Linked DNA regions of Homo sapiens: regions 1, 2 and 4 are each linked to region 3. The links are contacts of gene promoters, found by promoter capture Hi-C in blood cells and fetal thymus (Javierre and others, 2016). All regions are on one chromosome and are shown on one strand. Each heading gives the region's core, a stretch centred on a gene start or on the middle of the fragment in contact. The rest is flanking DNA. Distances are from core to core; before and after follow the strand shown.

Region 1 (5,680 bases), core at 2,962-5,461, 1.4 Mb before region 3:
AAGCTGGTAGTATCCATTGTGTTGCTGTTGCAATCCAACCTCAGTGCTAGCCATGCAACTAAAGTGAATGAAGTCCCTGCTCAGTGGGCGGAACTCAGTTCTCATAGCCAATACTGCTTTTGATTAACCTTGCCCTATTTTAAAAATTATTATTTTTAGAGTTAGGGTCTTGTGCTGTTGCCCAGGTTGGAGTGCAGTGGTGTGATCACAGCTCACTGCAGTCTCAACCTCCTGGACTCAGGGATCCTCCTACCTCAATCTCCTGAGTAGCTGGGGCTACAGGTGTGTGTCCCCATGACCTGCTTTTTAAAATTTTTGTAGAGATGGGCATCTCGCTATGTTGCCCAGGCTGGTCTTGAACTCTTGTACTCAAGTGATTCTCCTGCCTCAGCCTCCCAAAGTTGAGATTACAGGTGTGAGCCACCACACTAGTTTTTGCTGACTTGGGCTGTTACTAATGGCCTAGACATCTGGTCTGCCAGTTGAAAGGCAGACTAAAGACATCTCTTTTAAGGCTATAAACTATGAAAATAAATTGTGGCTGCCAACCAGAACATCTGGGTCATTCATGTAGATGACTACAGTTAAGGGCTGATAACACCTGTGACTGATAACACCTAGTGGAATCAAGCTGCTGATGAAGCCAGCATCACCTGGATTGTCCTCACAATGGCAACACATCCACCATGGCGGACTAGGCACCCAGTAAAGAACTCTTTCTCATGCATGCCAGTCTTGGTGACCCCTGCTAAAGTTATCCCATTTGTCTGGAGGTAAATAAGGCCATACTATACAGGACATGGGCCCGCTTGCTCCTAACTGACTGACTACACTGGCCATTTGACCTCCTGTTAGGGCAACTCATGGCGGAGGGGCTGACTGCTGTTAAGACCTTCTTAGGCTATGACGTTGCTGTTTCGGTCTGACCAACTGACTTTGACCATACAATTACAGCTCTTGAAACTAATGTGTCATATTAAGACCCAGGCTGGTCTTAAAACTCCTGGCTCAAGCGATCCTTCTGCCTCAGCCTCCCAGAGTGCTGGGATTACAGGTGTGAACCACCATGCCTAGCTGGAAGGGAAATAATTAATGCACAATTTGTTCCCTAGGTCAGTTTCTCAACCTTGGCACTATTAATATTTTAGGCCAGATAATTCGTTGTTTAGCAGTTACACTGGCCTCTACCCACTAGATGCCAGTAGCACCTTCCCTCTAGTTGTGACAAATAAAAATGGCTCAGACATTGCCAAATGTCCCCTGGAGGGCAAAACTGCCCCCAGCTGGAACCACTGCCCTTGATTCAAAACCACTACCTGAATCAAGTGGCAGCTGCAGCTAACAGTCTGACCTGCTGCTGGGCTTGTCCAGACCACCATGAAATGTGCTATGAAAACGAAAATCTCTCATAAACATGGTCAGTCCTGCACTGTTCTGCTGTGCCTGATACCATCAACAACAGCACCCAAATTCGAATGTATACAGACATCAGGACCAACACAACCTTGATTCAATCTGACTGATCATATGCTTTTGACGCCTGAGTGGTCTTGGGTAATACCGTATATGGCAACCGAAGCTGCAGCTATTTGGTGACACTGCCCCTGTGACTTAACCAATGTGATGATACAAATCAGGTTTAGCAACGAGTCCTGAACCAAAGTGACTTGTGTCCTTTGGGGTTATATTTTGGTATATAGGGGAAAAATGGGTAGGAGAAAAATGGGTCATGAGATGTCTCCCCATTAAGGACAGAGGTCGCTTTCTGGCCCATCAATTGTCTAATTATTGCAGCGACACCAGAGATTAACAGATCAGTTTAAACTCTGTACAGGTCTTAATGAATAAAATACCCTGGCCCTAGAATACCTCATGGCTGCCTAAAATCAGACCTACTGGTACTCCCTGAGATTATTCACAGTAAGCTGTCTGGGACCCTGGAGAGTAAGACTGAGATCAATACTGCAGGTTGGCTTCATCTGCTGCTTTGAGTCTTGATAATAGACTTAATTAAACGTCATGTGAGACAAACTGAGTGGATTTGGTTCTGGCTTCTGTTGGTTAGCTTAATCGAAGTGGTTGTCAGAGTAGCACACTTGTGTAAAAATTTAAGTTTGGCCAAGAATGTGTCAGGCTGAGGAGTGAATAGTGACAGAGGCAATGTGCTGTATACCCTAAGTGTCTCTGCACATTCTTGCTGAGTATGCCAAGAATACAATCCCTTGACTGTTCTTTACCCTGGCCACTTCTCAGGGCTGTGTTTGCACCCTTGTGAGCAACCTTGAAGGATGAGGTAACGTCTCCCCCAGGAAAAAAAGCAAGCTTGCTTCCATTTGCTATAAAAGTGGTGGATCTCAGTGTTCCTCTCCTGTCACACAACTCACTGTATAATGGGCCCTTTGCATCACCTCCTCGGGATTTGGTGGGGTATGGGAAACTGACACATAAGAACACGAAACTCTGGTTCTCACTTTTGCTATCATGAAGTGTTTTGCTCCTGTCCCAGAAGTCTCATGTCTTCTGCTAACATCCATGAAACCATGCCAGGCTAAATGTTTAGCTTACAAGTTGGGTAAAATGTCAAACACTGCACAGTTCCTGACAATTTCTCCTCCTCAATTATTTGAAGCAAATTTAACTTATCAAATGTAAATATTTCATCATGTATCTCTGAAATGATTTCTTAAAAAGAAATGTAACCAAAATCCTATTAACACAGCTCCAAATTTCAGTAATAATCTTTAGTATCTTTAAATATCCAGTCATACCAATTTAATGAGTCATTAATTCTCTGACGTAACGCTGTGATAGGCAATGCAAGTGTGACAGCTATGAAGGGTAATGAGTTTCCATTTGCTAAGATCATTTAAGAAGTCAAAGTAGGGCTGGGTGCGGTGGCTCACACCTGTAATCCCAGTACTTTGGGAGGGTGAGGCGGGTGGATCACCTGAGGACAGGAGTTCAAGACCAGCCTGGCCAAAGTGGCGAAACTCCATGTCTACTAAAAATACAAAAAATTGGCTGGGCACGGTGGCTCATGCCTATAATCCCAGCACTTTGGGAGGCCAAGGCGGGTGGATCACCTGAGGTCATGAGTTTGAGACCAGCCTGACCAACATGGTGAAATCCTGTCTTTACTAAAAATATAAAAATTAGCTGGGCATGGTGGTGGGCACCTGTAATCCCAGCTACTTGGGAGGCTGAGGCAGGAGAATTGCTTCAACCCAGGAGGCAGAGGTTGCGGTGAGCCAAAATCACACCATTGCACTCCAGCCTGGGTTGACGAGCGAAACTCCATCTCAAAAATAAAAATACAGATACAAAAAACTAGCAAAGCGTGGTGGCGGGCACCTCTAATCCTAGCTACTTCGGAGGCTGAGGCACGAGAATTGCTGGAACCTGGGGGCAGAGGTTGCAGTGAGCCAAGATCGCACCATTGGACTCCAGCCTGGGCAGCAAGGGCAAAACTACGTCTCAGAAAAAAAAAAAAAAAAAGAAGTCAAGGCAGAAAAATTATTGCAGGTGTCAGCTCCTAGAAGTGTATAACATCCATCCCGGCCCTATTATTATTTTTTTGATACATATATGTATATACACGTATATATGTGTATGTATATATATGTGTATATGTGCATGTATATGTAAGTATATATGTGTATATTACCACATATACATTTGTGTATACGTATATGTATATATGTATGTGTATATGTATATACATACACGCATACATACGTATGTGTATATGTATGTATATATTTAAAGTGTGTGTATGTGTATACACATATGTGTATATGTATATATGTGCATACATATGTATAAATGCATGCATGTATACATGTATACGTATATATACATATACACATACGTATGTATACATATGTATGTATACACTGCATATACATACATATGTATGTATACACTATGCATATACATACATATGTATATATACACATGTATGTATATACTATGCATACACATACATATGTATATATACACACGTGTACACACATATACATATGCGTATACATTCATACACACATACATGTATACACACATACATATACACATACACATATATACATATATGTATATATACACACACACACATTTTTTTTTTGAGATGGTGTCACTCTCTGTTGCCCAGACTGCAGTGCAGTGGCATAATCTCAGCTCACTGCAACCTCCATTTCCCAGGTTTGCGCAATTCTCCTGCCTCACCCAGTAGCTGGGATTACAGGCCCACGCCACCATAGCCTGGCTAATTTTTGTATTTTTAGTAGAGACAGGGTTTCACCATGTTGGCCAGGCTGGTTTTGAACTCCTGACCTCAGGTTATCCACCCGCCTTGGCCTCCCAAAGTGCTGAGATTACAGGCGTGAGTCATAGTGCTCAGCCAGAGGCCAATATTTTGGTATTGTTAGTTAATTTTTGTGAAACATAGACAACCAAATATTTCATTTAATTATTGCCTAATTTACAGTACTTGAAGATAAATAATCCATGGTATACATATAATTAGAATTCCTTTAAAAAAATCAGAATATGTCTCAGACTCTGAAATATAAATCTATCAGCTTAACAGTGCTTTGGTTAATCTATTATACTCCAAAATACTAATAACAGTGTTTTGTGTTATATTTTAATGAAAATCTAGATTTATGATTGCTCTACTGTTGCCAAGGGCACAGCCCTACAAGATACAGCTGTACAAGATCTGATGTTCTAAATTTTTGAATATTTTCTATTAAAGAGAAAAAGGAATCCACATTAGTGGATCCATTCATGTTTCAGTTTCTAGGTAACATCAATATAAATTGTCCACATAAAACCAAGAAGCTGACAGGACTTTTCTTCCTGAAGGATAAAACTTCAAGGCTTTAATACATACTGTGTAATTCTTTCTAATCGTTAAGTATTAGAGGCTACAACCACTACAGGCCAATGAAACGGATCAATTCTTCTTGTTTAACTGCTAAAAAAAATGTTATCACTTTGCCATAATAAACGGAAAAAGAACTGGATTGGAAATCCGCAGAGATAGGTTTTACTTTAGGCTCTGCAAGTAACTGTGACTTTAGGCAAATCATTTAACCTCTGCAAGTTGAACTCTGGTCTCCAAGGGCTCTCTTCTGTGGTATAACAGGATGAGCTCGCAATTAAGAGAGCGGCCCCTAGATGGTAGTGTTGTTCTGAGTCAGGCTTTCTATTTTTTTTCCTTCTTTAATTACAGTGAAGTAAAAAGGCACAAGTTAGAAAATGACTTCACGTTAGTTCTGAAAAAAATTCAGTTGGCTGGACAAGGTGGCTCACGCCTGCAAACCCAGCACTTTGAGAGGCCGAGGCGAGAAGACTGCTTGAGCTCAGGAGTTCAACACCAGCCTGGGTAACATGGTGAAACCCCGTCTTTACAAAAAATAAAAAATTAGGCTGGATGCCGGGGCTCACGCCTGTAATCCCAGCACTTTCAGAGGCCGAGGCGGATGGATCACTTGAGGTCAGGAGTTCAAGACCTGTCTGGCCAACATGATGAAACCTGGTCCCTACTAAAAATACAAAAAAATTAGCGGGGCACAGTGGTGCGTGCCCGTAATCCTAGCTACTCAGGAGGCTGAGGCAGGGGAATCACTTGAACCTGAGAGGCAGAGGCTGCAGTGAGCCCAGATTGTGCCATTGCACT
Region 2 (4,994 bases), core at 1,307-3,806, 1.1 Mb before region 3:
AGCAACTACAGAAGATAATTTAAATTTAGATTTAATCTGACTACAGATGATAATGTCTTCATGTACTTTTTACTTTCAATTCCAAGGTATCTGGGACAACTTCCCTATGTTGCATTTTAGCTTCTGCTTTTCTTAAACACAGATGATGCACTTTGTCCACTTCCTCATAGGAGTGTTAAGATCTATAGTCCTATGAGCTCTGTGAAAGAAGAATTTGTGTATGTATGTGTGTGTGTGTGAATGATGAAATACTTCTCTCCTTTGTTCATGTAATCTTGAATATCTAGTATTTAACACGTTTAATAATTTGAAAAAAATGTAATTTCAAATATAATTACATTTTAAAATGGAAATAAAGGTGGTAAGAAAAAGAGGGAGAAGTCTTGACTGGCTTCTACAATAAAGAAATATAATTTCAGTGCTTTAAAGTACTATAATAACAGAGCTGAAGAGTATAAAAAATGAATAAAGAGGGGCCAGGCATGGTGGCTCATGCCTGTAATCCCAGCGCTTTGGGAGGCCGAGGCAGGCCGATCACAAGGTCAGGAGTTTAAGACCAGCCTGGTCAACATGGTGAAGCCCCATCTCTACTAAAAATACAACAATTAGCTGGGCATGATGGTGGGCGCCTGCAATCCCAGCTACTCGGGATTGCAATTTCAAGGCAGGAGAATCACTTGAAACTGGAAGGCGGAGGTTGCAGTGAGCCGAGATTGCACCACTGCACTCTAGCCTGGACCAAAGAGTGAAACTCCGTCTCAAACAAAACAAAACAAAACAAAAAGAATAAAATGAAATACATTAATAAAAAACATGATTTAGAAACGGCTACTGTTACTAATATATGCATTTACAGCCAATATACTTATTTTTAACTTTTGCTTAATTAACTTCTAAAGCAGTAGGTTCAAATTAATTGCTGTTTAACTGGATGATGCTGTTAAAAAACGCACTGCTCCATATTGGAATTCTTATATGTTGTCAGTGGGAGCATAAATTGGTATAATCACTTTGGAAAATTGTTTGGCAGTATCAACTAAATCTCATTGTATATACAGCCTATCATCCAGCAATTCCACTCCTGAGAGAAAGTGATACCTTCCTATGGCAGAAAACTTGGAAGTAGAGAAAAGCACAGAGAATAAAAATAAACTGTCATCCTAGTACTGAGATAATCATTATTATTATTATGATTTTTTTGAGATGGAGTTTCACTCTTGTTGCCTAGGCTGAAGTGCAATGGTGCAATCTTGGCTCACTGCAACCTCCGCCTCCCAGGTTCAAGTGATTCTCTTGCTTCAGACTCACGAGTGGCTGGGATTACAGGCGCCTGCCAACACGCCCAGCTAATTGTTGTATTTTTAGTAGAGACGGGGTTTCACCTTGTTGGTCAGGCTGGTCTCGAACTCCTGACCTCAGGTGATCCACCTGCCTCGGCCTCCCAAAGTTCTGGGATTACAGGCATAAGCTACCATGCCTGGCTGAGATAATCATTATTAATATTTGTAAAGAGAATCTTACTTTACACACTTACTTTTATAGTAGACTTACTTTATACAATATTATAAATATATTTCCATGTAATAGATATTTTCCAACTTTTTTTTTTTTTAAGAAGAGACAGGGTCTCACTCTGTTGCCCAGGTGGGCGTGCAGTGGCACTCAAAGCTCACTGCAACCTCGACCTCCTGGGCTCAATTGATCCTTCTGCCTCAGCCTCCTAAGCAGTTGGGACTATAGGCCCGTACCACCACATCTGCTTATCCTTTATTTTTATTTATCTATTTTAATTTATAAAGAAAAGAGTTTTAATTGGCTTACAGTTCTGCAAGCTGTACAAGCATGGCTCCAGCATCTGCTTCTGGGTGAGGGCCTCGGGAAGCTTCCACATGAGCTACCATGCCTGTCTTCATGGTGGAAGACAAAGAGAGAGCAGACAGTGTCATATGGCAAGAATGGGAGAAGGAGACAGCCCCTTTACCTTTAGCAAGACTTATTTCCTCAAAAGAATGAGTCTGTTTCACTCCCAGAGGGCATAATGGATATGAATGAAATTCATATTTGTAGAGAGGGAACTAACATTCTTAAGTGTCTATCATGTATTAGGCATTGTGTTATACACTTCACTATGCTAATTTGTCATCCTAAAACAACCTTAACAAAGTAGGTATTACTTTCATTTTATAAGTTGAAGAAACTGAAGACCATTCAAATTATGCGCCTCTCCTTTCCTGCCTTGATTTTACCCTAACCTCCTTTTGAAGTCTTCTCCAACTTTGTTATAGCAGTTCCGTCCTTACGCTGCCCACATTCAAATTATGCGCCTCTCCTTCCTGCCTTGATTTTACCCTAACCTCCTTTTGAAGTCTTCTCCAACTTTGTTATAGCAGTTCCATCCTTATGCTGCCCAGGCCAAAAGCCTCAGAGTCCTTCTCATCTCCTTCCTTTATACCCCACATCCAATGTGAGGAAACCATCAGCTTATCATCTCTACCACTATTTCTCTGGTCCACATCTCTATCTTCTTGTCCCTCAATTATTATTATTATCTTTTTGTGAGATGGAGTCTCGCTCTGTCGCCCAGGCTGGAGTGCAGTGGTGCAATCTCGGCTCACTGCAACCTCTACTCACTGCAACCTCCGCCTCCTGAGTTCAAGTGATTCTCCTGCCTTAGCCTCCTGAGTAGCTGGGACTACAGGTGCGTGCCACCACACCTGGCTAATTTTTTGTATTTTTAGTAGAGGCGGGGTTTCACCATGTTGGCCAGGATGGTCTTGATCTCCTGACCTTGTGACCCACCCACCTTGGCCTCCCAAAGTGCTGGAATTACAGGCATGAGCCACCGCACCCGGCTGACCCTAGATTATTTTAGTAGCCTCTTAACCAGTCTCTGTGCTTCTACCCTTACACCCTACTGTTTATTCTTAACCCAGCAGTCAAAGTGATCCAATTACAATGTCAGAAAGTGTCACTTTTCTACACAAAATCCTCCAATGGCTCCAACCAACTCACTCAGAGTAAAAGCCTTACCTGATCTGCATCACCCCCACCTTTCACTTCTTTGACTTCATCTTCTCCATTCTTTCATGGTGCCTTCTGGATTGCTCCTAGTACACTTAGGCATACTCCTGCCTCAGGGCCTTTACATTTGCTATGCTTTCTGCCTGGGAAGTTGTCTGCTCAGATATCCCTAACCTCCCTCAAGTCGTTCCTCAAATGTTACCTCCTCCAGAAGCTTTCCTTGATCATCACCCCTCTCCGAACATAGCACCCCTCATACTTTCTATGTACCCTCTCTGCTTAATTTTTATCCACAGCATTTCTTTCTTTCTTTCAAAACAGGGTCTCACTCTGTCACCCAGGCTGGAATGCAGTGGGCTCAAGTGATCCTCCCACCTCAGCCTCCTGGATAGCTAGGACTACAGGTGCACGCCACCATGCCTGGCTAATTTTTAAACTTTTTGTAGATAGGGGGTCTTACTATGTTGCCCAGGTTGGGTCTCCAACTTCTGGCCTCAAGTGATCCTCCTCCTTTGGCCTCCCAAACTGCGGGATTACAGGCATGAGACAGCACTCCTAGCCTCTCCATAGCATTTCTAATCATACAGCAGTCCATATATTGTCCTTATACATTTACCATCTGTCTTTCCCACGTGGAAGAGGTAAGCTCCACGAGGGCTGGAATTGTTGTTTGTGCTCTCTGCTGTGTCCTCAACCCCTAGAAGCGTGCCTAGCATGCAAAAGGCACTCAGTATATATTTGTTGAGTAAATGAATGCTTCCCCCACCTTCCAACTGTTAGAGCAGGCCAAGGGGACCTGTTGTGCAGAACTTCACAGCTTTCTACTCTGAGCTCTATCTTCCTTGTTCTTCCCCAGCTTTTACTTAGGAGCCACTTCTTGACTGAGCTTGTCACAGGTGAAAGGCTGATGAATCTGGAGAGATACTTGTGGCAAGTACCCGGTGTTCCTGCAGTCATCCACAAGCGCAGCAGTGGTGGTAGACAGCTAGAGAAGAAAGTGTAAAGTTTGCATCCTCCAATTATCACGGTTGCAAGACAGAACTTGAAACTAGATACACCTGATTTTGGTTATCTCTGGATGCCATTCACCGAGAATGAAGGGAAGAAGATACTTCCTCCAAAGGAGAATCTGATGAGGCGCCAGCAGGCTGCTGCTGCGGTGGAAACTGCCACATCCGCTTTTGCAAACTGGTGTGGCCCCAGCTGCTTGGACTGAGGCTCAACGCAGGTTTCAGCCACTTCAACCACAGGGCTACGAACATGCCAAGAGAGCCACTAACCAAGTTTCTCATTCCTCCTCTGAGATTTAAAGTCCATCACTTCGCGACTCAAACACGCAAGAGGCGTGGGAGACGGAGGAATGGGGAAGCGAGGCGGCGCTGCCCACCTTGGCAATGGCACAGCCGCGGTCTCTGATGCAAAGGCAGGCGGCCGCGCAGGGCCGGGCCTGGGTGGGAAGGCTGGGCTCTGGGAAGGATGTCGGGGCACCCGGCAGTGCCCAAAGCCACCATCTCAAGCGTGATAGTGGGAAAATGGATGCTGCACCTGCTCTCTCATCTTGCGGGGAATCGTGATTTGGGGAAGTTTCACCTTTGTTGCAGAACTGCCCACATTAGAGCCTTCATTTCTTGGGAAGGGGTTGGCGGGAGTTGCCAGTGAAATGTGTGACACACACACGCGCCACATACTCCCCAAACCCACAGACGACTCCAGTAACGCTCTAGTTACCCTTAAAAAGTAAAACAGAACAAATCAGCAGGCCCCCTCCCTCCATCCTGGCACTTCATTAATGTCGGCCAAGGCCACATTTCCCCTGCCCACTGCAGGGAGTCTGTCAGGAGAACAACAGGCGAACGTTTGCCTCACTTGACTCAGCTCTCTTGGGGCGGTATCAGCATTTTAAAATTCACACCTAAAGGAAGGAGTCAGCAAAGGAAAGCAGAGCTGGGCCGGGGCGCCGGTGGCCGCCGTCA
Region 3 (5,470 bases), core at 4-2,503:
TAGACTCCCAACACTACTGGAGAACATCAGCAAAACTCCAGGAGGAAGCGCCGGCATCCTCCCACTTTCTCCCCCTCAATTCCCTCTCCCGGGGCCACTCACACTTTTAGAAAAGAGCCGCGGCGCCGAGAAAGTGGGTTGGTTCCCTTCCTCCTTCGGACTGAAGCGGCAGCTGCGGAAGGCTCCGGCGCGGTACTGAGGAAGAAGCGGTGCTCGTGTCGCTAAACCAGGCGGCAACCCGGGTCTCTTCCGCGCTGCCAGGGGAGGGGAGGCGGCGGCCCCGCTTACCTCCTCTTTTCCTCTTCCTGGGTCTTTTCAGGCTGCGGCTTCTGCCCGTCCAGGGCCACTTCTCCCGGGACAGTCAGGTTTGGGAGACTCCGGATTTTGTTTTTGTAAAGTTTCCTCTGGGTGGAGGCTGCGGCCGGCCCCCCGGGTCCCCCCCGGCCCCGCCGCCCTCGGGACTGGGGCGGGGGAGGGGGGCTCTAGGAACTCCTCCCGGAGTCCAGCCAAGGAGCCGGGGGGCCGGCGACTGGCCAAGGGAGAAGACCCCCGGAGGGGGCTGAGGGGAGGGGGAAGGTGAGGAAAGGACGGCGGCGTCGGTCCTGTTCTCTCCGCCGCCCCAGCCGCCGCTTCACATCGGGGTCCCCGCCCCCCCGGCCGGGGGGTGGTTGCCGAGCTTGGTTGGGGCCCCGGTTCATACACTCCGGGGCAAGATGCTACGGCCCCGGGCGGGTGGCCGAGTCGGCGGCAAGGCGAGGGACCCGGCCGGCTCCGCTCGGCGCCGCCCCCGCTCCCGGCTCCCGCATGTGTCGCTGCGGCTGGGACCCCCCTCCCTACACCTTGGGGGTCTCGCCCCACGCCCCACGGGACGAGGCAGAAGCTCTGGCGCCTCCTCAGCGTTCTCTCACCGCGGAGCAGCTACCCACTCCCGGCCCGTGGTAGCCGCCTCCCTGCCCCCCAAGCCGCCGGCTCCGGCTCAGGCTCGGGCTCCGGCTCTGGCTCCGGCTCCGGCGTGTGCAGCCGCCGCTGCCGGCCGGGAAGGTGAGGGGGGGAAAGGAGTGCGGCCGCGGCTCCCGCTGGCCCAGGTGAGAGCGAAGGTCTCGGCGGCGGCCAGTGCAGGGGGACTGGATCTCTCGGATGCTCCTTCGCTCTCAGTCTCAGCGGCGGCGGCGGCGGCAGCGGCAGCGGCAGCGCCCGGAGCTCAGCTCGCTGTCTCCCTCGCTCTGTGCGGGGCTCTCGCCTCACTCCAGAGAGAGGGGCGGGAGGAGAGCGGCGCCTGCCGATGACGCAAGTCACCTAGCAACCGCTCTCTTCCCCCTCCCTCTTCTTTCCGCTCTGAGGCTTCCTCCGCTGGCCTTTTTCCCCCTTCCAGCCACCCCGCCCTGGGCGCCTCTGGCGCGCTCTGATGACGCTCCAAGGGAAGAGGAAGTGGGGATCGGCGAGCGGGTGGGTGCGCCTCGGGCCGCGGGACTCGCAGCCGCCACCGCCGCTGCCGCCTCTACGGCCGCGTCAGAACTGAAGAGAGGAAGGGGAGGAGCCGAGTCGAGCCTAAGCTGCCGCCCGATCTTACCCCTGACCCGAGGGCGGCCTGGAGAGCTTGGTCTGTAGCGGTTTCCTTCGGGGCAGGTGGGGACTGCTCCTTTGGGAGGAAGGAGGAGGCCCAGGCCGCGTCTTCAGGCAGCTGCGCGCACCACCCGAAGGTGAGGCATTTGGCCCCAAACAGACCCTCGAAAAGCCGGACTGATCGAGGAGTTACCCTACAGCCTGATCTGCACCTGCTCCAGGGAGAGAGCGCCCCACCCTTCCCGTGGCGTGGGGTGAGACCCAGCGTTGGATAACGTGTGGTCGGGCCGAGCAAATGTTTGATGAATGAATGAATGAATGAATGCCTCTCTCACGTGGCACTCGTGAAGCTCAGAGGATATGGTGGAAGTGCAAGCGCTTTGTAAACTGCAGTGCATTGTAAAAATGAGTTGTAATACATTCCTCCCCTCCCCCTAGCCATGAAAGGAAACAGGGGTGCGGCTTGAGTACAGAGTCACAACCTGAGTCTTTAGTGGAAAAGGAGACGAAATGCCGAGCAAGGGAAGGGACCCATCCTCGCGCAGATTGTTAGGGCGGCGGGAAGGGAGGATTGGAAGGGAGCCATCCTCTGGGAGATTGCTGAAGGATTTTTGACTGTCAGGGGAAGAATTTAATAGTCCCTCACTTTTACGAATGGTTCTTTCTTACGGTTTGGAGCTTTCGAGAGCTTCTGGTCTTGGTTCATCAGTGTACGTTGTCATCAAGAAATGTTGGCCTGTTTCAGGTCTGACTCAAAGGTTATTTTCTTTCTAAAATAAGTGTTATTACTATTATGCAGCTTTTCCTACAGATGTTATCCTGGAAAGGAAAGTTAAGTAGAAACTCATGAAGTTTAAAGTGTAGTTCTCTAGGAAAACAAATTTAAGATAAAAGGACCAGAATCCTCAGAAATCTGTCTTCAGTGAATAGTATGAGAAAAAGATTAAAGCAGCAGCAATGATGAAAGCAGATTCCACAATTCTGTCCCTGGACCCTAGTACACTCTACCTCCTTGGGAAGCAGTAGTAATGGATTTTACAAGTCTTTCCACCTGGAGGAGGGGGTAAGGTAGGAGCAAGTGTATTATAGACAAATGTGGGAAGCTCTGGGTTTCTCCCACTACTGCCACTACCATCTGCAAACAGTAAACTAAGGAAACTTTTAACTGGGTAAATCCAAGGGCTCGTGTTCATTAAAATGCTGCGGGAAAGGTGGTGAGAGGGGCAAAGGAGGATGTGGCAAAACCAAGGAGAGACTCACAGACTAGCACCTGACCCTACTGCCCTTGACCTGAAGTTCCAAGAGCCAGGTTAAATATCCTGCTTAAATTACCCTGGATTTTTCTGTCTTTACGTGACCAATCCCCTGCTACAGCCTTCCAAATAAGACTCACAGGTAATCAGACCAACAAGTGATGGTCTCACATGGCTACAAAATAAATATTTTTTGTTTTTCCCCCTCTTCCTATCTTACAACAGGGGAATGGTGGAAATTAAAGGAGTAAAACACACAGATTTAGGGGATTTTGTGAAGCTAAACACCTCAGAGAGTTTAACCTTTGTAGGCTTTGAAGGAAAAGAGTGCAAACATCAGAGTTCTGCAGCCCAGCAGAGAACACCTCCAGTTAAGTGTGTACCACATAGGGTTTTTCAGCAGCGTGATCTTCTGTTTTCATTGTCAGTGGCTCCACCTTACAACCTCAGTGCTGAGGAACAGAAGGGCACTCAGGAGAGCCTGAGCCACTTACTTAGAAAGTATTTAATAACAGCACACTAAGCTTACTGGGCTAGATACCCACCTCAGCACCCAGCTTGATAACAGGAGGAAACAGCTGGAACTGGAGACTGGAGAGAAGGAAGTTCATACATTTCCAACTTGGTCTGCATCTCTTTAGTTCCTTGTATTGCTTATTAATCCAGAGGAGAAAACAGCTAGTTAATTAAAAATTCCAAAAAATCTGAAGTTTTAGCTAATAGTTACTTCCCTGGTTCATCAATTTAAGATAAGGATCTAAATACTGTGTTAAAATATAGAAAAACGGAGACTCTTATAAGGTTTTTGACCTCTACACTTGAAAGTGAGCTCTTACAAGAAACTAATCAGTGTTTCGTTATTCCATATCAGTGGCTTTTACTGTCAAAGATTGTGTAAGCTAAATTATCTGGCAAAATTTTGCTTTCCAGAAATACTATCTATATTAATTTTAACATTTTTATTGTGAAATATAGTTTAAATACATAAAGCAATTATATAGTATAAGTGATTATAAAGGAAACCACCATGTAACCAATCAACCAGGTCAAGAAATGGAATATTTCCAGCAACTCAGAAGTTCCCCTCCCTGCCATGACCTTCCCGAACACAACTCTTTCCCTCCCTCCTAAGTGTAGTCATTATTCTAACATTTGTGATAATCATTTCCCTGCTTTTCTTTGTCGCTTTGTCGCAAGCATGCATCCCTAAACAATATATTGTTTAGTCTCACTCTTTCTTTTGAACTTTATGTAACTGGAACAATATAATATGTAATCTGTTGTTCTTGCTGCTTTTGCTCAACATTGTTTTTAATTCATATGTTGTTCAGGTTGTTCCTATAGCTGTAATTTGTGCATTTTCATTGCTGCATATTACAGTGTCCCATTATAACAATATGTGACAATATGTTTAGCCATTCTATTGCTGATGGACATCTGGGTTGTTTCCAGTTTAGGATTGTTATAAATGCTAATGTGAACATTCTTCATATATGTATTCCATCACATCTACGTCAGTTTCTGTATAACATATACCTGGGAGTGTAATATGTATCATAAACTTGAATAAATAATGCCAAGTTCTTTTCTAGAGGGTTACACAGTCACACTAGGTATATATGAGTCCCATTGCTCCACACCTTCACAACACTTGACATTATTGGTCTTTTTGGTTTTGCCAGTCTGGTGGGTGTATGGTAATATATCATTGTGGTTTTAACTGTCATTTCTCTGATTACTGATGCTGTTGAGGACCTTCTTGTATACAACTAGCTATTTGGATTTACATTTTTGTGGCGCGTTAGTATCTTTTCAATGTCTAAGTCTCTGAGATGCCCAACTTTTCAATATCCTTTCATAGTCCACATTTGAACAGGTAAAGTAATGTTATGGGATGTTTAGGGTGTCGCTTTTCTGGCCAGAAACCTCTGTAGCCTGTGGCGCCTTTGCACAAGTCTTGCTCAGGCCCACTGGGCTCATTCCACCTACTTGGCCTGGCAGGCTGTGCTCAGCTTATGCTACCGGCCTGGATCCCACACCTGCCAAGGGCAAGTACGGCGTGGAGTGGCAAGGCATGTGTGAGCGAGCGTGAGGTCTGGCTACTGCGCAGTCAGACACACCAGCTGCTGCAGTGGGGCGGGCAGCTCCAGATGCACCAGCTCTCTGCAAGGCTGTGGCTGGACCAGGCATACTGCAAGCAGCTTCCACAGCTGGCACCAGGGAACACATTGGCACCCGGAAGCTTGGAGACGCCAGGAACTGCAGGGACCCAAAGAGGGAGTCACAGTGTTGGCTTGGGGAGCTCCCAGGTCTGGGCTCCCCAAAAGGCCACAGCCCTTCCCTCCTCTTCACCCGCAACGTGGCAAGCAATGGGGATGTCTCAGCCCCATTTGTGTTATATCTCGTTTAGCCTCGCCATCTGGCAGGTCCCAAGTTCTTGTCCCGTGACCAGGAAGAATGAGGTACACAGACAAGTGGAGGGTGAGCAAGATGTTATTGAGTAATGGAACAGCTGAGAGGAGACCCACAGTGGATAGCTCCTTTCTGCAGCCAGGGTGTCCCAGTGAGTGTTCAGCTGCTAGCAGGGAGGGCAGCTCCTTTCTGCTAGGCAGGTTGTCCTGATGAGTTTTCAGCTCTCAGCAGAGAGGAGAGCT
Region 4 (5,514 bases), core at 2,409-4,908, 1.5 Mb before region 3:
TATCAATTAGGAAATATTTACGTGTAGCAGTACTAACAACATTGAGATGGACTAATTTACAGAATCCCAATACTTTCGTTCTAATTTTTTTTTTCAGGGTGTTGCTCTGCATGATTGTAGCTCACTGTAGCCTCGAACTCCTGGGCTCAAGGGATCCTCCCACCTCATCCTCCCAAGTAGCTGGGACCACAGGTATATGCCACCATGCCCAGCTAATTTTTTATTTAATTTTTTTTTTTGTAGAGACAGGGTCTCACTATAGTGCCCAGGCTGGTCTCAAACTCTTGGCCTCAAGTGAACCTCCCAAAGCTCTGGGATTACAAGCATGAGCCACTGTGCGCAGCTGCTTCCAAAGATTTTCTAGAGTGGCCAAAACCCCAGATAATCCATGAAAGAGCATGAAAAGTATTTTAAGGGACAATGGAAGGGGAGAAACTGCTACCTAATATTCTCAGCAACTTTTCCTGCCCTACCTGACAAGCGAATGATATTGAAGAGGAGGGTAACTAACTGAACAGACTCTTCTCTCTCCTTCTATCCAGGCACCTACTATCCTGCAAATACGCAGCTTTGAAGGACTTAACCAATGACCTTAAAATCTATACCAGGTCTACAGTTCTAGGAAGCGTATAAGCAAATGCTGCTATAGAATTTGGATTTTCTTTAATGATAAAAATGCAAATGACTCACGTTTGGTCATCCACTCCAACACAGCACATTCTAAAGAACAGGAGTTCAAATCCTCCTTCTGCCAAAAGATGTTGTGTCTTCACACACAAATAAGTAATTATGGATTATATTACTACCACAAATTTCTGTTTCTCACTGAAGGCATATGACATTTTAAAAAAGAACAAAAAATCAGAAAGGAAATGTTTCAAGTCTATTTTGAGGTAAAGCAATCAATTTACCATTTATCTTCCTCAGACTTACATATGAAAGCCCCACACACATGCGCACACACAAGATCCCCAAAATGTTGACAACTGTTGAAGCTGCACAACGGATACCAGAGTTCATTATACTATTCTATTTTTGCATATATTTGAACATTTCCATAATATGCAGTTTTTTAAAATATGCATGTGTGTGTCTATAGGTGTTTATACATAAACTCCCAATAAACTGACATAGAAATATCCAATTGTTCAAAGCTTTCATTCTTCAAAAGTAAGTGAATTTCTTTTTTTTTTTTTTTTTTTTGAAACAGTCTCTCACTCTGCCACCCAGGCTGGAGTGCATTGGCACGATCTCGGCTCACAGCAACCTCCACCTCCTGGGTACAAGCAAGCGCATCCAGCTAATTTTTTTGTATTTTTAGTAGAGATGGGGTTTCACCATGTTGACTAGGCCAGTCTCAAACTCCTAACCTCAAGTGATGTGCCCGCCTCGGCTTCCTGAGGTGCTGGGATTACAGGCGTGAGTCACCACGCCCGGCCAGAATTCCATCTAGCTACTTTCTTATTCTAGAAGTTGTACTGCAGGTGACCAGACCATTAGAGAAGGTCTAGTGAAAGAAATAATTAACTGCCCCAGAATAAAACAAGCCTAACCTTGAAAAGAGGCAAAGGGAAAGGTGCTAAACAGTTATTACAATTAACTGCATGTTTATATTTGGTCCTGTTATCCTCTAACACAGGTGGGTAGGTAGAAAAGGGGGAAGTATTTTAGGGCCAGATTTCCTTTTGATTCTTTAAGTTGATGGGCAAGAGAGGCTGGAATAAAGAAATCTAAAAAGTCTCCATTATAAATGATAACCAAGCCAGGCACAATGGCGCATGCCAGTAGTTCCAGCTACTTAGGAGACAAGAGGGGAGAATCGCCTGAACCCAGGAATTCAAAACTAGCCTAGGCAACAGAGTGAGACCTCATCTCTAAATAAATAAGTTAATGAATTAATTAAAGGTAGAATTGTATAATATATGAATTATACCTCAATTTAAAAACAATTTAAGCCCTATACAGTGATGCATGCCTATAGCCACAACTACTCATAAGACTGAAGCAGGAGGATAGCTTGAACTTAGGAGTTTGAGAACAGCCTGGGCAACATAGAGAGGCCTCATCCCCCTCCCACCCCCACCCGAAAAAAAGCATTCATAGCTCATCTTAGTATAATCAGCAACTTCCAATGACTAACTATGCTTTCCTGCTAGACATGAATTTATAAAACACATAAAAATTATACTGTATCTGCTTCAATTCCTTTTTTCATATTGCCATTCAATTTTCACAAGATTACTTTAAATGCAATCCTAAATTCATCACCAATTTAACTTTTGTTAGTTATGTCTAAAAATAAAACTAGTCAAAATTAAAAATACTAACTTTGCAGCAAATTAATCTTGCATCAGCACTACAAACAAATTTTTAAACTTATTGTAGCAAAACATAACTTCGACAGAATCAAAGACATTAATTCTCAAGTCCAAAAAAAGGTCACAAGAAATTATTTAAAGTGGTAAAGGGAAACGCAGACTTAGGCATACAAGCCAAGAAAAAAAAAATTAGAGATAACTCCTCCGCTAGAACCTCCCCCCAATACTTCCATAGCAACAATTATTTCCTTAGCACAAAAGTGATGTGTTCACTTTCACAAAACCTGGATCATCTAAGTTTGCACAATTCCCTTCAATCTAAAAAACAGATGAAATTGTTTCATTTAGGTGAGTAGAATTTTGTGTCCCTATACACGAAAAAAGTCACCATCAGTGTGAGTAAACCACATGGCTCCAGCTTTAAGATCTTGTTCCCCAACCCACTGAAAAGAGTATATGCTTATAAAATATTCATGGACTTACCAGGTTAAAGACAGTTTCTACAATATCCCTATTGGATACTTCTCCAACTTCAACCAAACCGGTCAACACGGCAAATTTCATTCTGATGCCCCTGATGGGGAGCCCTGGTTTCAGAGACAATGCACCCCCTTCAGTAGGGGTTTCTTCTCTCCCTCCACCTCCCCCGTCATCACCTGTTGGTGGCGGGGAAGGGACACGATTGTCTTCGCTAGCCATTGCTAGCTCACGATAAAGGACAACTCAGAGTCACCCTGGGACGGCAGTCGCTGCACTGGTAATGAGCACAACACACGCAATGCAAAACGAAAGGGTCCCTCTTCCAACTTGTGGAGATACCCCAAAGCAGTTGATGTGGAAAGTCCTTGGCGTCGCCCTCCTCCTCTTGGAGAATATTTGTCCAATCTCTCTCCCCGAGGCTGACAACAACGCCAAACCCTATTGGAAGATTAAATATATGTTAAATAGGCTAGGTTTTGTTTTAGGGTTTTGAGGGGACAAGAGGGAAATAGTTATTGTCGGTCAAGTAAGTTACTAAAGGCACCCCACTACTAGCCACCCGCTTCTCCCGGGCTCAAAAAGCTGGGTTCTGGGTGAAGGCAGGTCCAAGAGGCCCCCGAACAGGCTCACTCCTCCCCCACTCTCGTGCAGGTTCTAGGCGCAGGGTAACCTCTCCTCACAGGTGCACTAGAAAGAGAAACTGTCGCGGGGAAAGGAGGGATCGGAGGAAAGAAGGGGGGCCCACAAGCTATCACAGAGGTAGAAAGTTCTTCCTCACCCAGATACTCCGGACTCGTCCTCACCCCCCGCCCAGGAGCAGCGAGACCGAGGTGGCGGCGGAGATCCAGGGCAGGAAAAGGCGGGGGAAGGGGGCGGTGATTATTCTAAATGCTCGGCCCAGTGGGAGGAGTGAAGCACCTCTCTCAGGCACCTGAGATTCGACGGGAAGGGGTGGGGAGGTGTGTGTGGTGGCAGGAAGGGAGGGGAGCGGCCAGAGAAACCCAGCGGCCACCGCAGGGAGAGAAGGGAGGACAGAGAGGTCAGTGCACCTGGTCGCAGCCTCCAAGTTTCCCTAGTCCGCTCCCCGGGAGTCCGCGGCTGCACAGAACTCCATGGCTTCCTGGCCCGCCCCGCCCCTGCGCTCAGCCTTTGCAAAAGCAGCCGCTGCTGGCGCTACGGGCGCCGCGGCTGAGGCTGCTGCGAGTGGTGAGGATGCTACTGCCACAGCTCGCCCCGCCACGGGTCGCGCGGCTGTCGTGTGCCCACTGAAGCTGCTCCCGGCCGCCATGACAGCGCCGAGTGCTGCCGGGCGCGGCGTGCGCGTGCGCGAGCGCGAGTGCGCGGGGCGGGAGGGCGCGAAGGCGGAGGCAGCCGCGCGGCGGGGGCGCGGTGACGACGCGCGGACAGCCAAGGGGGCCCCGAGCCAGCCGGAGTGCTGGGCTGGGGCTTCCGGCTGCACTAGGCGCGCTGCTCTGGTAGCACCAGGTGTGTACCCGGCCCGGCGAGGAGAGACCCTTCCGTCCGAGGGCCTACACTTTCCCCTCTCCCACTCTCGGACCTCGGGAGGTGCTTCTGCCAAGTCCTGAGGCGGGGATTTTGGCGCTCCTGCTGTTGTTAAGTTACCGTAGGGTCTCTTGGCGCGGAGGGAACACGCGCTGCGTTGCCTAGGTGTCTCATTGGACTTGGAGAAGAACACCTGAGGCACCTCTACGAGCCAGAGAGGTGACGGCGCTGGAGCCAGTGAGGCTGCTGTCCCTGCCCAATGGGAGCGAGGAGTCCCCACCCCTGGCTGCTTTCAGCTGTTGCCCGCCCGCCGCTCTCGGCGGAGACTTGGAGATTTCCACTGGGATACCTCGGCAGCTGCCGCCATTCGGGAGGGGAGGGGAGGGGACCGAGTCGACGAGGAATGGGAAAGATTCCTTGCTTTGCAGCTGCCGCGCCACGAAACCTCTCCCACATTCATTCTAGGCAGAGGATTCCTGAGACAGCTGCTATAAACAGCGTGGAGACAGGGTTCCTTGTGCCTGTAGACCTCCGAAGGGTTTTTTCCTCTCGTGATTTTCCAATGTGAAGATTAGGCTCGCGTCATTCTCAGAGTAGATCAAAAGATAAATTATATTAGGTAGTACAGATAGGTCCTCATACTCAGTGTCCCTTCTTTCCACCCGCTATTAACAGTAAACCATTCTTCCTAGTGAGTGAAAAATAAATTTAGAGGAAGGTGGTTTTTCACCCACGTGTATCCTTTGAGGTCAAAGGGCCTTTTTAAAAATACGCCTAGCTCCTAAAATGAAAGTGAAGCAAAAAGTGGGATTAAACAAAGGAAGAATTCTAGAGAACTTAGGAAAAAATTATAGTGGTTTGAGAAATAGTTTCCTGAAGAAAAAGTTATTTGAGATGGCCTTGAGAAGTGGACAGAAGCCGGGCGCGGTGGCTCACGCCTGTAATCCCAGCACTTTGGGAGGCCCAAGCAGATGGATTGCCTGAGGTCAGGAGTTCAAGACCAGCCTGACCAATATGGTGAAACCCCCGTCTCTACTAAAAATACAAAAATTAGCCAGGCATGGTGGTAGGCGCCTGTAATCCCAGCTACTCGGGAGGCTGAGGCAGGAGAATTGCCACTGCACTCCAGCCTGGGTGACAGAGGAAGAGCGAGATTCTGTCTCAAAAAAAAAAAAAAAAAAAGACAATTTTAACTCTCACATGGAAATTTGGG

Evidence for each region. The method cuts DNA at HindIII sites, captures the fragments that hold promoters and counts their contacts. A CHiCAGO score of 5 or more calls a contact.
Region 1: a fragment that was not itself captured here is called in contact with the fragment with the promoter of FBXW7 in region 3 in 1 of 17 cell types (total CD8 T cells); the score reaches 5.7 in total CD8 T cells.
Region 2: a contact is called between a fragment that was not itself captured here and the fragment with the promoter of FBXW7 in region 3, in 1 of 17 cell types (fetal thymus). The highest score is 5.4, in fetal thymus.
Region 4: the fragment with the promoter of LRBA here is called in contact with the fragment with the promoter of FBXW7 in region 3 in 1 of 17 cell types (non-activated CD4 T cells); the score reaches 6.5 in non-activated CD4 T cells.

The regions. Positions count from the first base shown.
Region 1 is chr4:151,112,380-151,118,059 of GRCh38, forward strand. No RefSeq gene overlaps it. Among named protein-coding and RNA genes, the nearest start is that of SH3D19-AS1, 9.0 kb to the right of the region's middle. The HindIII fragment of the contact is 3,783 bases long and covers 2,321-5,680 here.
Region 2 is chr4:151,403,702-151,408,695 of GRCh38, forward strand. FHIP1A-DT (FHIP1A divergent transcript) reads right to left here. Exons shown (of 3, transcript NR_183963.1): 1 at 3,482-4,994; 2 at 1,822-1,907. Among named protein-coding and RNA genes, the nearest start is that of FHIP1A-DT, 2.7 kb to the right of the region's middle. RefSeq lists enhancers at 3,905-4,214, 4,046-4,745, 4,746-4,994 and a silencer at 4,672-4,994. The HindIII fragment of the contact is 1,353 bases long and covers 1,881-3,233 here.
Region 3 is chr4:152,534,839-152,540,308 of GRCh38, forward strand. FBXW7 (F-box and WD repeat domain containing 7) reads right to left here and starts at 1,254. Exons shown (of 14, transcript NM_001349798.2): 1 at 289-1,254; 2 at 103-195. It overlaps MIR4453HG (MIR4453 host gene), which reads left to right and starts at 1,426. Exons shown (of 1, transcript NR_033797.2): 1 at 1,426-4,425. It overlaps MIR4453 (microRNA 4453), which reads left to right and starts at 1,590; the gene lies at 1,590-1,678. RefSeq lists a silencer at 290-1,079 and enhancers at 949-1,484, 1,190-1,549. The HindIII fragment of the contact is 7,748 bases long and covers 1-3,338 here.
Region 4 is chr4:151,011,626-151,017,139 of GRCh38, forward strand. It overlaps LRBA (LPS responsive beige-like anchor protein), which reads right to left and starts at 3,659. Exons shown (of 57, transcript NM_001364905.1): 1 at 3,577-3,659; 2 at 2,802-3,236. The coding sequence starts at 3,017. RefSeq lists enhancers at 3,089-3,268, 3,449-3,578, 3,930-4,527 and a silencer at 4,079-4,228. The HindIII fragment of the contact is 17,217 bases long and covers 1,153-5,514 here.